Linked DNA regions of Homo sapiens: region 2 is linked to region 1. Evidence: promoter capture Hi-C in 16 types of primary human blood cells and fetal thymus (Javierre and others, 2016). All regions are on one chromosome and are shown on one strand. The core of a region is centred on a gene start or on the middle of the fragment in contact, and the rest is flanking DNA. Distances in the headings are between cores, read along the strand shown. Region 1 overlaps NYNRIN (NYN domain and retroviral integrase containing). Region 2 holds the start of IRF9 (interferon regulatory factor 9).

Region 1 (6,097 bases), core at 2,849-5,348:
CCCCAACCTCATCTGGTCCCACTGCCTAGCAAGGTTAAATCTGAGCAGGTGTGGGCTGTCTCAGACCTTAACAAATATTCCCCCACCCCAGGCACCCCCATTTCAATGACCGGAAAACAACATGAAAAATGGAGAGATGTGCTGGGGAAGAAGATTATGGGTGGCTTCTTTCTCTTTCTGCAGAGAGCTTAGAATATTTATGGTTCCATCAACTGTCCAATATTTTATTTTATTTTATTTTATTTTATTTTATTTTATTTTATTTTATTTTTTGAGGCAGAGTCTCACTCTGTCACCCAGGCTGGAGTACAGTGGCACAGCTAGAGGCTCTGATACCAGAATTTTTCCACTGGAGTGATCTCAGCTCACGGCAGCCTCCGCCTCCTAGGTTCAAGAAATTCTCCTGCCTTAGCCTCCCCAGTAGCTGGGATTACAGATGTGCACCACCATGCCCGGCTAATTTTTGTATTTTTAGTAGAGATGGGGTTTTGCCGTGTTGGTCAGGCTGGTCTCGAACTCTTGACCTCACGCGATCCACCCGCCTCAGACTCCTAAAGTGCTGGGATTACAGGTATGAGCCACCGTGCCCGGCCCGATATTTTAAAATTAAGAAATATATAGGAACTGTGATAATTTTTAAAATAATAAATATGAACTAATATTTAGTGAGAGCTTATTATGTGTCAGGCACTTTGCACACATTATCTTATTTATTCCTCTCTCTGCCCTTTAAGGAAATACTATTATCCCCATTTTAGATGAGCAAGGAAGGCCATATGTCCAAGATCACACAGTTAGTAGGCTGGGATACTCAGGCACTCTAGCTCCACAGTCGGGGGTCTTCACCATGATGCCGTCTATACTGTAGAGGGAGAGAAGATAAGGAAACAACAGGCATTTACAGCCTGAAAATACCTGAACAGCTTTCCTGCCTAAAGCCAACCCAGACCTTCTTCCTCCAAGAGGAGAAAAAGTAGAGAAGAAGAGGCAGGAACAACTAACAACTAGGTAGAAAGATGATACAGAAGAATAGAAAAGGACACAGAAAAAGAGCACTGTATTTGTAAGAATATATTGTCCAATACCCACAGGTCGTTAGTCAACTTGTAAGTTAAATAAAAGCATTTATATGACATATTTTAATATTATTCTGTACTTGTCAAGGTGCTTTATTACTTAACACCTAACTTAGGGTTCTCCTTTCTCATAAGTCAGTTATCATTCATTGTCTACTTTCCAGAACCACCCCAATTTACACTGCAGGATACTCAAAAGGCTCAGAAAACAACAACAAGAAACTCTGGAATTGGAAGTGAAGGGGAACATGAAAAACCAGGTTCTTTGAGGAGCAGTTAGATCTGGGAGCCCAACCACTCCCAACACACATACACACACACACACACATTCACACACATTCACACACATTCACACACACACATTCTCTCACACACACACACACACACACACACACACACACAGGCTTGGCAAGTAGCTTCCCGCTCACTGGAGGGCTGTTCTCCAGGGAGTACAAAACAAGGTCTTAGGAGTCGAGGTTGATCAGCATAATCGAAGGTGTGAGCACCACACAAAAAAACATGGAGGGAGTGAGGAGGGCCAAAGAATGATGTATACAATGCAAGCTAAACGCAGAGAAACTCATTCTTCCCACTCAGAGATTTGCTTGGCAGCCAGACCCTGACCCTCCAGGCCAGGGAAGCAGGCATACATTCTGGAAAACCTGGCCAGCCCAAGAGCAGAGACTTAAAGATCACAAAACGGGGTCCCTAACCAACAGCACCTGCAAATCTCTGTACAATCAAGCTCAAAACCAACAAGTCTTGCCCACAGCCTCCACTCCCAATCAGCTTTTTGTCCTTCACTCTTTATCATGCAAGGATTATCAGGCTTGTGAGGAAAACTTCTAATGTGAAACACAGAGGACAAACCATACAGGAAAACAAAAAAGCAACCTGAAAGAAGAGAAACTAGGGGGGAGAAGAAAACTTCAAAAAGCTTACTATCATTTCTATCCTCAGAGAGGTAACAAAGAATATGGTAGACACTAAACAAGAATAGAATACATACGTTTCAAATTGGATTTAAAAAGCGTAGGATACTATTTTTTAACAGAGAGAATATAAGTGACTTCTAGACATTAAAAATTTGATGGCAGAAATGAAAGACCCAAGAAAAGGCTTCAAAGATAAAATTAAGGAAATCTTCAGAAAGCAGAACAAAAAGTTAAAGTTGAAAAAGAGGAGAAAACATAAGAAAAGCAGAGGACTTCCAGAAAGAGAGGACAGAGATAGCACAGGAGAGGAAATCATCGACTAAATACTTCCCCACATTTCCCAGATCTGAGGAACATGAGTGTCCAGATAGAAGGCCCCCTAAGTACAACAAGAGTGCCTGACAATGGAGGAAAACAGAACCGCACAAAGGGGCCTCACTGGGAGACTGCAGAACATTGGGGAAAACTGACAACTTCCAGAGAAAAAAACATCTCACACAAATGACCAGGGACCAGAACAGCTTCAGGCTCCTCCAAATGGAGCACAACCCTCACATTTCTGAAGGAAAATAATTTTCCTTTTATAATTCAATATCAGCCAAGCTCTCAATCAAATATCCTTTGGCTATGCAACGTGGACATGCAACCTCAGCATTTTTCCTCCTGTAAAACTTTTCCCGGGAAGCCACTGGAGAGCAGTTTTCCAGCAAACCAAGTAAGAAAGAAGCAAAGACCATCTCCAGGATGACGGTGAAGAGAAATCTCAGAATTTATTCATCCATTCGACAAATAATTCTTGACTACATGCCAGGCACTGTTTTAGGGTGACAATGGTCATTACACAGGACAGCTAGTTCAGATTGGAGGGTATGACTCAAGAGACAGGCATGTTGAAAGCAGGCATCTGCATACACTTTGCTGCTGCACCATCTTTTTAACTTGAGGCTACAGAGGGATGTGTTCCATCAACCCAAGAAAGAAAAAGTTTCAAGGTCCAGGACATGAGTATCTAGCAAAGAAAAAAGGCAAAGGATGCCAAGAACGACAGCTGTGTCAGCCTGGAAAGCAACTGACCAGACAGGAGAGACGGCGCCAAGAAAAAATTTAGAACCAAAAGAACACCTTGAACTGATAGACTGACCTTGTAGAAAACTGTACTGAGAGGCTACTGGAAGTGGTAAGAATTAACAATAGGTACAAAGAAAGGCAAATTGAAAAACAAGGAGTGCTTAACCTCAATGACCTCAGTAAAACCCAAAAAGTAAGAAAGAAAACAAAATCATAGTACACTTCAGTGCTTCGATGTGAACGCTATGTGCAAGGCATAATGAGGCAATGCTAAACGTAGATTTAGCAGGTAATTGAAACAGAACTATCTTGAGAAGAGGGGCTGGCCGTGAAAGGGAGCTCAATCCTCACATACGATAATGGGACCAAAAAAAGATAGCAGCAAACGTCAATTAATTAAAAGACAATAGTGTCTACATATTCTTTTAGAAATGTGGAGATGCGTAAATGCCAGAGCAAATACTGTCAGTGGGGATGGTTACTGAAGGAGGAATTGGGAGGGCCGGGGCAGGGAACCTCTGTGTGCTCTTCTAAGCCTTTTGGTAAAATTGGACTTTTCAAATGTGTATTACTTTGATAAAAGAAAATTTAAGTTTAAAGAAAAAGAAGTATTCAGTGCCCACAACACAAGCAGGTGTCCTGGTAAATGTTTAACAATCAGCTGGGGGTGGGGGGTAACCTTGATTTGTCGCATTTGCCAATTTCTGTGGCATAAATACTCCCACCATGGCTGTAAATACTCCTCCACTCACTTGCACAATTCCCGAAATTTTAACAGTGGGTCCATAGGAGCCAACTCCAGGCACTGACCGCAACCAACTCTCAGGGTACTGCTCACAGTTAGTGTGCAGCAAAGATAGTTCAACTTCCATCTGACAGCCAAGCCAGATGTCAGCAGGCCACACCCTGTCCCAGAGCTCCAGAACCCAGTCTCCAGAAGGTACTCTTGCCCACCACCACTGCCTTTAGGCTCCCCATCACCTCCCGCAGTGGTCACCTCTCTTCTCTGCCGCCCACCCCATCCTCACCTCACTGCCAAAGGGGAGAAGGGTGGAGCAGGGCTTGTCCCGGGCCTCTTCTGATCATTACTAAAACCCGCCTCTCCACTCACTGATTTCACCTCAGAGAGGCCTCCCCAGTGTTTGTTTTGCTGCCTGGGTATGTGTTTCACAGTAATGTCTTCAGTGTTCTTTAATCCCACCACAACAAAACAATTTTAAAGCACTCAAGATTTACAGAGATTTTCCTGAGAAACCAACCACATAGAAACACACTCAGGCCCTTCTCTAGATGAGCCTGTATCCTTCTCGACCCCTCCTCCCCTCAGACCCCAACAAGCCACCCTCACCATCAGCCCTCCCCCAGTCCTGCAACCTGTAGTCTCCCAGAGTCCTCTCTGCCTGTTGGCCTATGTTCAGTATGCCACTAACAAAGTGCATGATTCTGTGTCCCTACAGCTGAGATTGGGGCCAGCCACGCTGCCTCCCTATGAGAACCACAAGACATCCTTACACTTGGGAAATGTTCATGTGTCAGATCGCTGGACCTCAGACAGCATTTAATCCAAGACTTCCACTTTACAAACAGGGAGATCGAGACTCAGAGAGGGAAAAGGACTTGCTCAAAGTTACGCAGCTAGTCAAAAACAATAGTAGCTAACATCTATACTCTATAGCTCTCCACATTTTATAACAGTATTGTAACATGCATGATTTCAGCAGACTCTCACAAACTCTTCATGAACCAGGTATTATTATAGTCTGTTCCATAGATGAGGGAAATGGCTCAAGAGAGGATAAATTATTTGATCTGATCACCCAGTTCAGATAGTTAACAGGTAGCAAACCCCAGTCTCAAACTCTCCTCACCATACCCCTCCTATCTTGGTTGTAACTTGGTGACAGCATATCAAACCCAGATCCCCTAACCCCTGAGACAAAACTTTAACCCCCCCCGCCCCTCACCTTCCCTGTCCTCCTTCTCCAAATTGCCAACAAAGTCTCCTTTATGGTCATTGTGTAAAATAAGGCAGGGAGCTACCCAGAATCCCCTCACGCTGGGTTCCCACTTTTCAACAATGCCTTTCCCAAAGGGAAGACAAAGGGGGAGTGGAGGAACAGGGCTAGGAATCAAGGGAGCCACTGATTCCATTAGCTGGGCCTACAGTGGGAGCCTGAGGTGTGAGATCTGCGGTCCGAAGAACCCTGAAGCAGCAGAGGGAGACGGAGCAGGTAGGCCTGGAGAAGCCAATCCAGGATTTGAGCAAGGAGGGGGTGGCGGGGGTACCTCCGAAAGTGTGAGTCCTGGCCCGGCACAGTGGTTCATGCCTGTAATCCCAGCACTTTGGGAGGCCAAGGCGGGTGGATCACCTGAGGCCAGGAGTTCAAGACCAACCTGGCCAACATGGTGAAACCTCATCTCTACTAAAATACAAAAATTAGCTGGGCATGGTGGCACGTGCCTGTAATCCCAGCTACTCAGAAGGCTGAGGCAGGAGAATCACTTGAACACAAGAGGCAGAGGTGGAGGCTGCAGTGAGCCAAGACCACGCCATTGCACTCCAGCCTGGGCAACAGAGTGAAACTTCATCTCAAAAAAAAAAAAAAAAGAAAAAGAAAGTGTGAGTCCCCTAAGAGGGTGAGCTGCTGCCTTTCAAAGTAACAAAAAGATTAAGAACCCAAAGAACCCAAAACACTCCTCTTGTTAGCCTACCCTACCCCGGCTTCTAAATGTCTTCCTCTCAAGGCCTCCAGTACATATGTTCTTTGGGAAGACACCCCTTCCCCCTCCTAGCACCTCTGTCAAAATTGGAAAAACTGCTGACCTAGCAGCTCCACAGAGGGGTTGAGGGAGGAACTTCCCAGCCTGCCTGCCTACCAGGCTGGCTGGCCGAGTTCTGGGCCTCCCCACCCATGGCCTTGACCAATTAAGATATAGGTATAAACCCATCTGCAGTAGGTGTGCGTGGTGAAGGGGAAGGTGGTCTGGGGCAGAGGGAGGCTGTGGCATTCCTACAAA
Region 2 (5,974 bases), core at 3,475-5,974, 240 kb after region 1:
GTACTCTACCCCTGCTCCGAGCTCACCTTCACTGTGATAAGATTCTGTGGAGTATGGCTGGAGCCATGGCTCTCTTCCCAGAAATTCAGTGTTACCTGGAACTTCGGTGGGGGGCCCAGGCCCTGAAAGTACCTGACCAAGTCTGAAAGAGAAAGGGTCAAGGGTTCGAAGAACAAAAAGAAGAGAGAGGGCCACAGGCAGGGAGGCAATAGTGAGGAACCCATGATGGAGAGAGGTAGGAGGGGGTCTTGCCAGAGCAGGAGCTGCAAGGTCAGAAGTACTTGGAACTAAGTGCTACTCACCCATGTGCAAATAGGAAAGGGTGCCCCTGCCTCATATAAGTGCTTAGAAGTAGCAGATCACAGCACAGCCCGACAAGCTCTCTGCTGGGAGAGTTTAGAGTCCTCCCAGGTAGCAGCCCTGGCTGCTAACTCAGATGTGCCCAGACCTTTGCTACTTGCTCACATCCTCCCAGTGCTAGGGCACCCATGGCCCTGGGAACACCCACACTCTGCACCCCCTGTACACCTGGTCCCACTCTTAAGGTCAGGTTTAGAATTGAGTAGGAGCTGGAATTGGATGGGAGAGAAGCGCAACCCTAAGGCATGCCTGGAGTGTGGTAAAGACGGTGCAGCCAGGGCCAGTGTGTGTGATGTGTGCCAGCTCTCCCAAATGTGTGTACGTAGGAGAAGGCCATGAGGCTCAAAATCTCTGTGCCAATTCTTCTGTGCACCTTCACATAGTGACTGCATGCTTCAGTGTGATGGTGTTCTCCAAGATATGACACTCTTGTGCTGGGCTCTACCTGAACCACCTCTTCCATTGTCTTGGCTGGAGGAGAGCTGCCAGGTAGCTGCCAGGCTGGGCATATGGCCACACAGGATATGCAACACACAAGCGCAGGAGTGCCATGCATAGGCTACATGGAGGATCTGCTGGCAGATAGGGAGGTAGCAGGACCCAACAAGTTGGGCCCAGGGGGTACTAAGAGGTAGGGGGTGGAAGCTCATGTGCCCAGAGAGAACAGCCTCACCTCTGCAGAAGTAGGCGGTTCTGAAGAGCTCCACGCACTCGTTGCTGGGCAGCAGATGCGGGCCTGGCCCAGGTGGAGCCTGGGGTGCATTCCAGGAGATGGGGATGGGGCAAAGGCGCTGCACGAAGAGGCCTCGGGGGTTGCTGGCCACTAGGATGCCCCTCTCAAGCTGGCTCAGCAGGCGCTGCGTGGGCTCCAGTGGGCCAGGCTTGGGGAACAGCACCTGCTCCATGCTGCTCTCAGAGCCTGAGGGCTCAGCCACAAGGCGGCAATCCAGGCTTTGCACCTGGGCCTCGCCCACCACGCGCCCGTTGTAGATGAAGGTGAGCAGCAGTGAGTAGTCTGGGGATAGAACAGCCCTACCTGGTGCTGGAGGAGCATGCAGGCTGGCAGCAGCCCCTCCCCAGGGGAACAACTCCACCTCCCCTCCCCACACCAGCCAGGGGGCTTCCTCTCAGGTTTTCCTATCACTGAGGCAAGTAGCTAGTATGTGATTCACCATGAGGCCTCAGGGCTCAATGCCCAGGGGCTTGTAGTTTACTAGAAGGTCCCTTGAGATTGGGCCTCTGTTTGGCCCAATGAAATCAATGTCTCAATGTAGATTTCCAGGAGAGTGTATAGGGTGGTATTTTTGGGAAGCAAGCTTTTTGGAGTCTGGCCAGGCATATGGAATTCTCGCCACCTAGAAACCACTGCCTAGGGCTATGGTAATGTGGGTACAGTTTGCTGTAAGCCCTGACTGACTAGATAATGCATGCATAGTCAAAGGTGGAAGACCTCAGGGGCACAGGGCACAGGAGAAAGTCAGAAATGCCACGTACCTGGCTCTGGAGGAAGCAGAAACTCCAGGGACCTCTGATCCCCTTGAAAGGGGGCCTCAGTTGTGTCTGTAACTGGAAGGGAAGCAAAGGCACTGGTCATTCAGAGTGGGACTGGGGAGTCTTGGGCCAGAGGGTGTGGCATGGGGGACGACACAAGAGGCAGGGCAGGTGGTACCTTCCTGTGGCTCAGGGCTGCTGCTGCTGCTGCTGCTCCCAATGTCTGAATGGACTGCTCCCCCACTGGCCCCCTCCTCCTCCTGCGGACACAGTGTCTTTTTATTTTTTTTCTCTTTTTTTGAGACAGAGTTTCACTCTTGTTGCCCAGGCTGGAGTGCAGTGGCGCGATCTCGGCTCACTGCTATCTCCGCCCCCCGGTTCAAGCGATTCTCCTGCCTCGGCCTCCTGAGTAGCTGGGATTACAGGCAGATGCCACAACGCACAGCTAATTTTTGTATTTTTAGTAGAGACGGGTTCTCACCATGTTGGTCGAGGCTGGTTTCGAACTTCTGACCTCACGTGATCTGCCAGCCTCGGCCTCCCAAGACACAGTGTCTTTCATTGGCCCACCTCTCCCTCTGGTTACTGTCCTGCCCTTAGGCCCACCCAGTTCCCTCTCCATCTCTTACATTATTGAGGGAGTCCTGGAGCACAGAGGGACTGAGTGTGCAGTTCTGCATGGCATCCTCTTCCTCCTTCCTCTCAGAGGACACAGAACTGTGCTGTCGCTTTGATGGTACTTTCTGAGTCCCTGGCTGGCCTGTGGAATTGTTGAGGGACAGAGAAAGGTCAGGGTCTTGAGCAAGGACAGAGGGTGAAGGAGAGGTCTGAGGCAGTGAAGGATGGGCAGGTCTAGGAAGGGAAACCTGGGTTGCAGCCCCCCAAGGGCATGGACAGGGCAGAGCTATAAGCCTGGGGGAAGCCTGCACATCTATCCTTCCTCCCCAGTCTGCTGAGTCTAGCAGTGGTTGGACAAGGGGAAACTCACCAGAGACGATTCCTGGTGGCAGCAACTGATACACCTTGTAGGGCTCAGCAACATCCATGCGGCCCCTCTCAGGAACCTCCTTAAATTCAGAACTCTTGTTGAGTGCACAGCGCAGGCGAGTCTTCCAGACAGCTGGACCTCCTGTGTCCCCCTCCTTATACTTTCCCTTAAATATTGCCCAGGCCTAGGAAAGAAAGCAAGGGAAGAAGAGGCAGTGTGTTACAGGCTCCACCTGCCCCTCCAATAGGACTGGCTTTACAGGCGTGCAGCTCTGAGCTCAGAAGGGATTATGCAGGGTCTGTGCTCTGCGTTGCCATCTTGAAATCCTTGGAAATTTTTTTTTTTTTTTTTTGAGACAGAGTCTCACTCTGTCACCAGGCTGGAGTGCAGTGGTGCGATCTCGACTCACTACAACTCCACCTCCCTGGTTCAAGCGATTCTCCTGCCTCAGTCTCCCGAGTAGCTGGGACTACAGGCATGCACCGCTAGGCCCAGCTAAGTTTTGTATTTTTAGTAGAGACAGGGTTTCACCATGTTGGCCAGGCTGGTCTTGATCTCTTGACCTCGTGATCCACCCACCTTGGCCTCCCGAAGTGCTGGGATTACAGGCGTGAGCCACCGTGCCTGGCCAATATCCCTAAAATTTTTGAACAAGGCCTCCACATTTTCATTTTGTACTGGACTCTGCAAATGATGCAGCTAGTTTTCCTCTCCAATCTGTCCCTTATCTGAAACCCAGGCAGACGCAAGTGCTCGAGGATGAGTGTACCAGTGTGTATACACCATCCCACACACAGAGGAACAGTGGTTTCCAGGCCCTTTCACCTTGAAGAAGGCAGCATCCTGGTCCTCCCGGAAGTCCTGCTTGCCTGCATGTTTCCAGGGAATCCGGAACATGGTCTTAGCTGTATCATCCCAGCACACTCCGGGAAACTGCCCACTCTCCACTTGCTCCACCACCCAGTTCCGGAGTTTTCGGGTGCAGCGTGCCCTGCCTGATGCCATCCTGGGGGATAATAGGAGCAGGATGCATCAGAACTGACACTTTGGGAGGGAACATCTCCTGAGACCCTGGCCATTGAGACTAGATTCTGGCAACAGGTCCCAGAGATCCCATCCATCTTCTTTTAGCTCCAAACACATTTCAACACTCTATGGGACAGAATTGTTTCCTTTCTGCCATCACTAGCAGTGACAAACAACAACAACAACAACAAAACCCCCCAAAACATTGTTTTTAGCACTCTAAGCTGTGATACCTGGAAGGAAACCTTGGGCACTGGTCTTAATTTTAGGACTTTTCAGAGATGTATTGTTTACAAAAGAATTCCTTTGGTGATCGTTCCTGGTGACAGGCCCTGTCTAGATTCCCGAGCATCAGCAGAGGTAGGTTCTGCTGAGATCCATCAGGCTCTTCACCCACCGCCCCACAGCCTACACAACCTAGCCTGACCCCCACCCCCTGCCGGCCCCAGGAGTAGGTGGGGCAGGAAGTAGGGGTGGGGTTGGAGCTGCAGCAGAAGTGGGCAGGGCCAGATGGCAAGGAAACAAATGGTCCACTGAGGCTGGGGCCAGGAGCCTTCTTCCTTGAACAATCCAGCAGTAGGTCCTCCTGACCTTTGCCTACAAGGGTCTGGGGAGCTGGCCCTTGTCAGTCTCACTCTCAGGCTGAATCTCCCACTTCCTGACTTAAGAGATCTTCTGTCTATCCCTCAGTCTAACAGAGCGACCCCTAGGACCCCCTGCCCTCAATCTGGCTGGACTTTCTAGCCCTAGATCCCAGGCTGACTCCCATCCTTGGCTGATCTTACCTGAGTTGCTGTCCAGGCTGTCGCAGGGCTCAGACGACCTCAGCTTAACTCCTGGCTGGGCGGCTGATCTCTCCGCCCCTTTCTACAGTCCCCACCCTAAGTTTCAGTTCTCCTCCAGGGAGGGCCTTTTCCCAGAAATCACGTGGTCTGAGTTGCAGGGAACTGGCGGCCACTAGAGGGCAGCAGCATCTGAGCATCTCACTATCAGGATGCCACTGTCGCAGCAGGGGGGCCCTGCCCTGCTGGCTCAGCTCCAGCCTGGCTCATTCCCCTGCCTCCCTCAGATACTCTTGCTTCTATCTGACCTCTGGGTGACACCGTGGCTTCCCCAGGGAGGCCAGTTTCCTGGAGTCAGGCCTGGGACCTCTGGACTGCTGTGTACACCTGTGCATCTGCATTCCCCCACAGTGCCCACCTGATACATATTGGGTGACTTCAAATACCAGTCAAATTCTATGAAAGGAAAAAAGGAGGCAGGGAGGGAGGAAGCCCAGGCCAGGCTGCTGGATGGGGAGGGCCTCCCTTGACCATCCAGGGTGTCAACTCCTTCCTGGTCCTGAGTCCAGGGAGGGTCAGGCACTAGGTTGCAGGGGGCCCTTTTCAGCAAAGCTCTGTTCACCCCGCTCTTTCCCTGGTGCCCCTAGATGGTGGCACCAGGAAGAAGGACCACCAAGAAGCCTGGGTGGTAAGATGCCTCTTTATTGGTGCTGGAGCTGTTCCTGAGGGAGCAGGCCATGGGACCCTCATCGGGACCCTTGCCCTCAGCTACTTCCGCCTGCGGGGGATACTCTGTCCCAAGGGTACCTCTTCTGTCAGCTTCTGCAGAAGGAGAGAGAAGGTAATGATATTGGAAGCCTGGAGCTCAGACACAGTCAGCACCAGGTGACTTCTGTAGGGTGGGTTAAGAGATGAGGCTGGGTGGAGGCTATACCTGTAACAAGCGGGCCTGGTAAGCAGGGGGATCCTCTCCAGCCAAAGGCTGGGGGCGTACGTGCAGGTAGCGCTCAGTGGCCGTCTCCAGCTCTTCCACCTCATACAAGGTGGCTGGGTCCAGCGAGTGGGCATTGATGAGGCTCACAAGATACTCTTTGTAGTGTGCCCTGGGGAGAAAAGGGAGCAGAATATTTGTTGTGTTGGCTAATATTAACTGAGTGTGTCTAACATAGCTGGACTCTGAGACACCTGGACGAACAAGATTAACAACCCACCTGTGCCCACACTGCCTGCTACTATCTACCCATGCCCTTGCCCAGAAAGCCTCCTCCCTCCCACCCACTGCAAGACCTACTGCTCCCAAGGACCCATTTTACTGCCTGGGCATGCC

The links. The method cuts DNA at HindIII sites, captures the fragments that hold promoters and counts their contacts. A CHiCAGO score of 5 or more calls a contact.
Region 2: the fragment with the promoter of IRF9 here is called in contact with a fragment that was not itself captured in region 1 in 1 of 17 cell types (activated CD4 T cells); the score reaches 5.7 in activated CD4 T cells.

What each region holds. Positions count from the first base shown.
Region 1 is chr14:24,400,376-24,406,472 of GRCh38, reverse strand. The region is part of intron 2 of NYNRIN (NYN domain and retroviral integrase containing); the gene reads right to left. Among named protein-coding and RNA genes, the nearest start is that of NYNRIN, 4.4 kb to the right of the region's middle. The HindIII fragment of the contact is 4,166 bases long and covers 2,016-6,097 here.
Region 2 is chr14:24,160,015-24,165,988 of GRCh38, reverse strand. It overlaps IRF9 (interferon regulatory factor 9), which reads right to left and starts at 4,724. Exons shown (of 9, transcript NM_006084.5): 1 at 4,651-4,724; 2 at 3,665-3,845; 3 at 2,840-3,023; 4 at 2,481-2,611; 5 at 2,030-2,111; 6 at 1,855-1,926; 7 at 1,034-1,375; 8 at 27-142. The coding sequence starts at 3,844. RNF31 (ring finger protein 31) reads right to left here. Exons shown (of 21, transcript NM_017999.5): 20 at 5,582-5,750; 21 at 5,334-5,469. The coding sequence ends at 5,416. RefSeq lists enhancers at 3,559-3,618, 4,608-4,997. The HindIII fragment of the contact is 4,395 bases long and covers 1,679-5,974 here.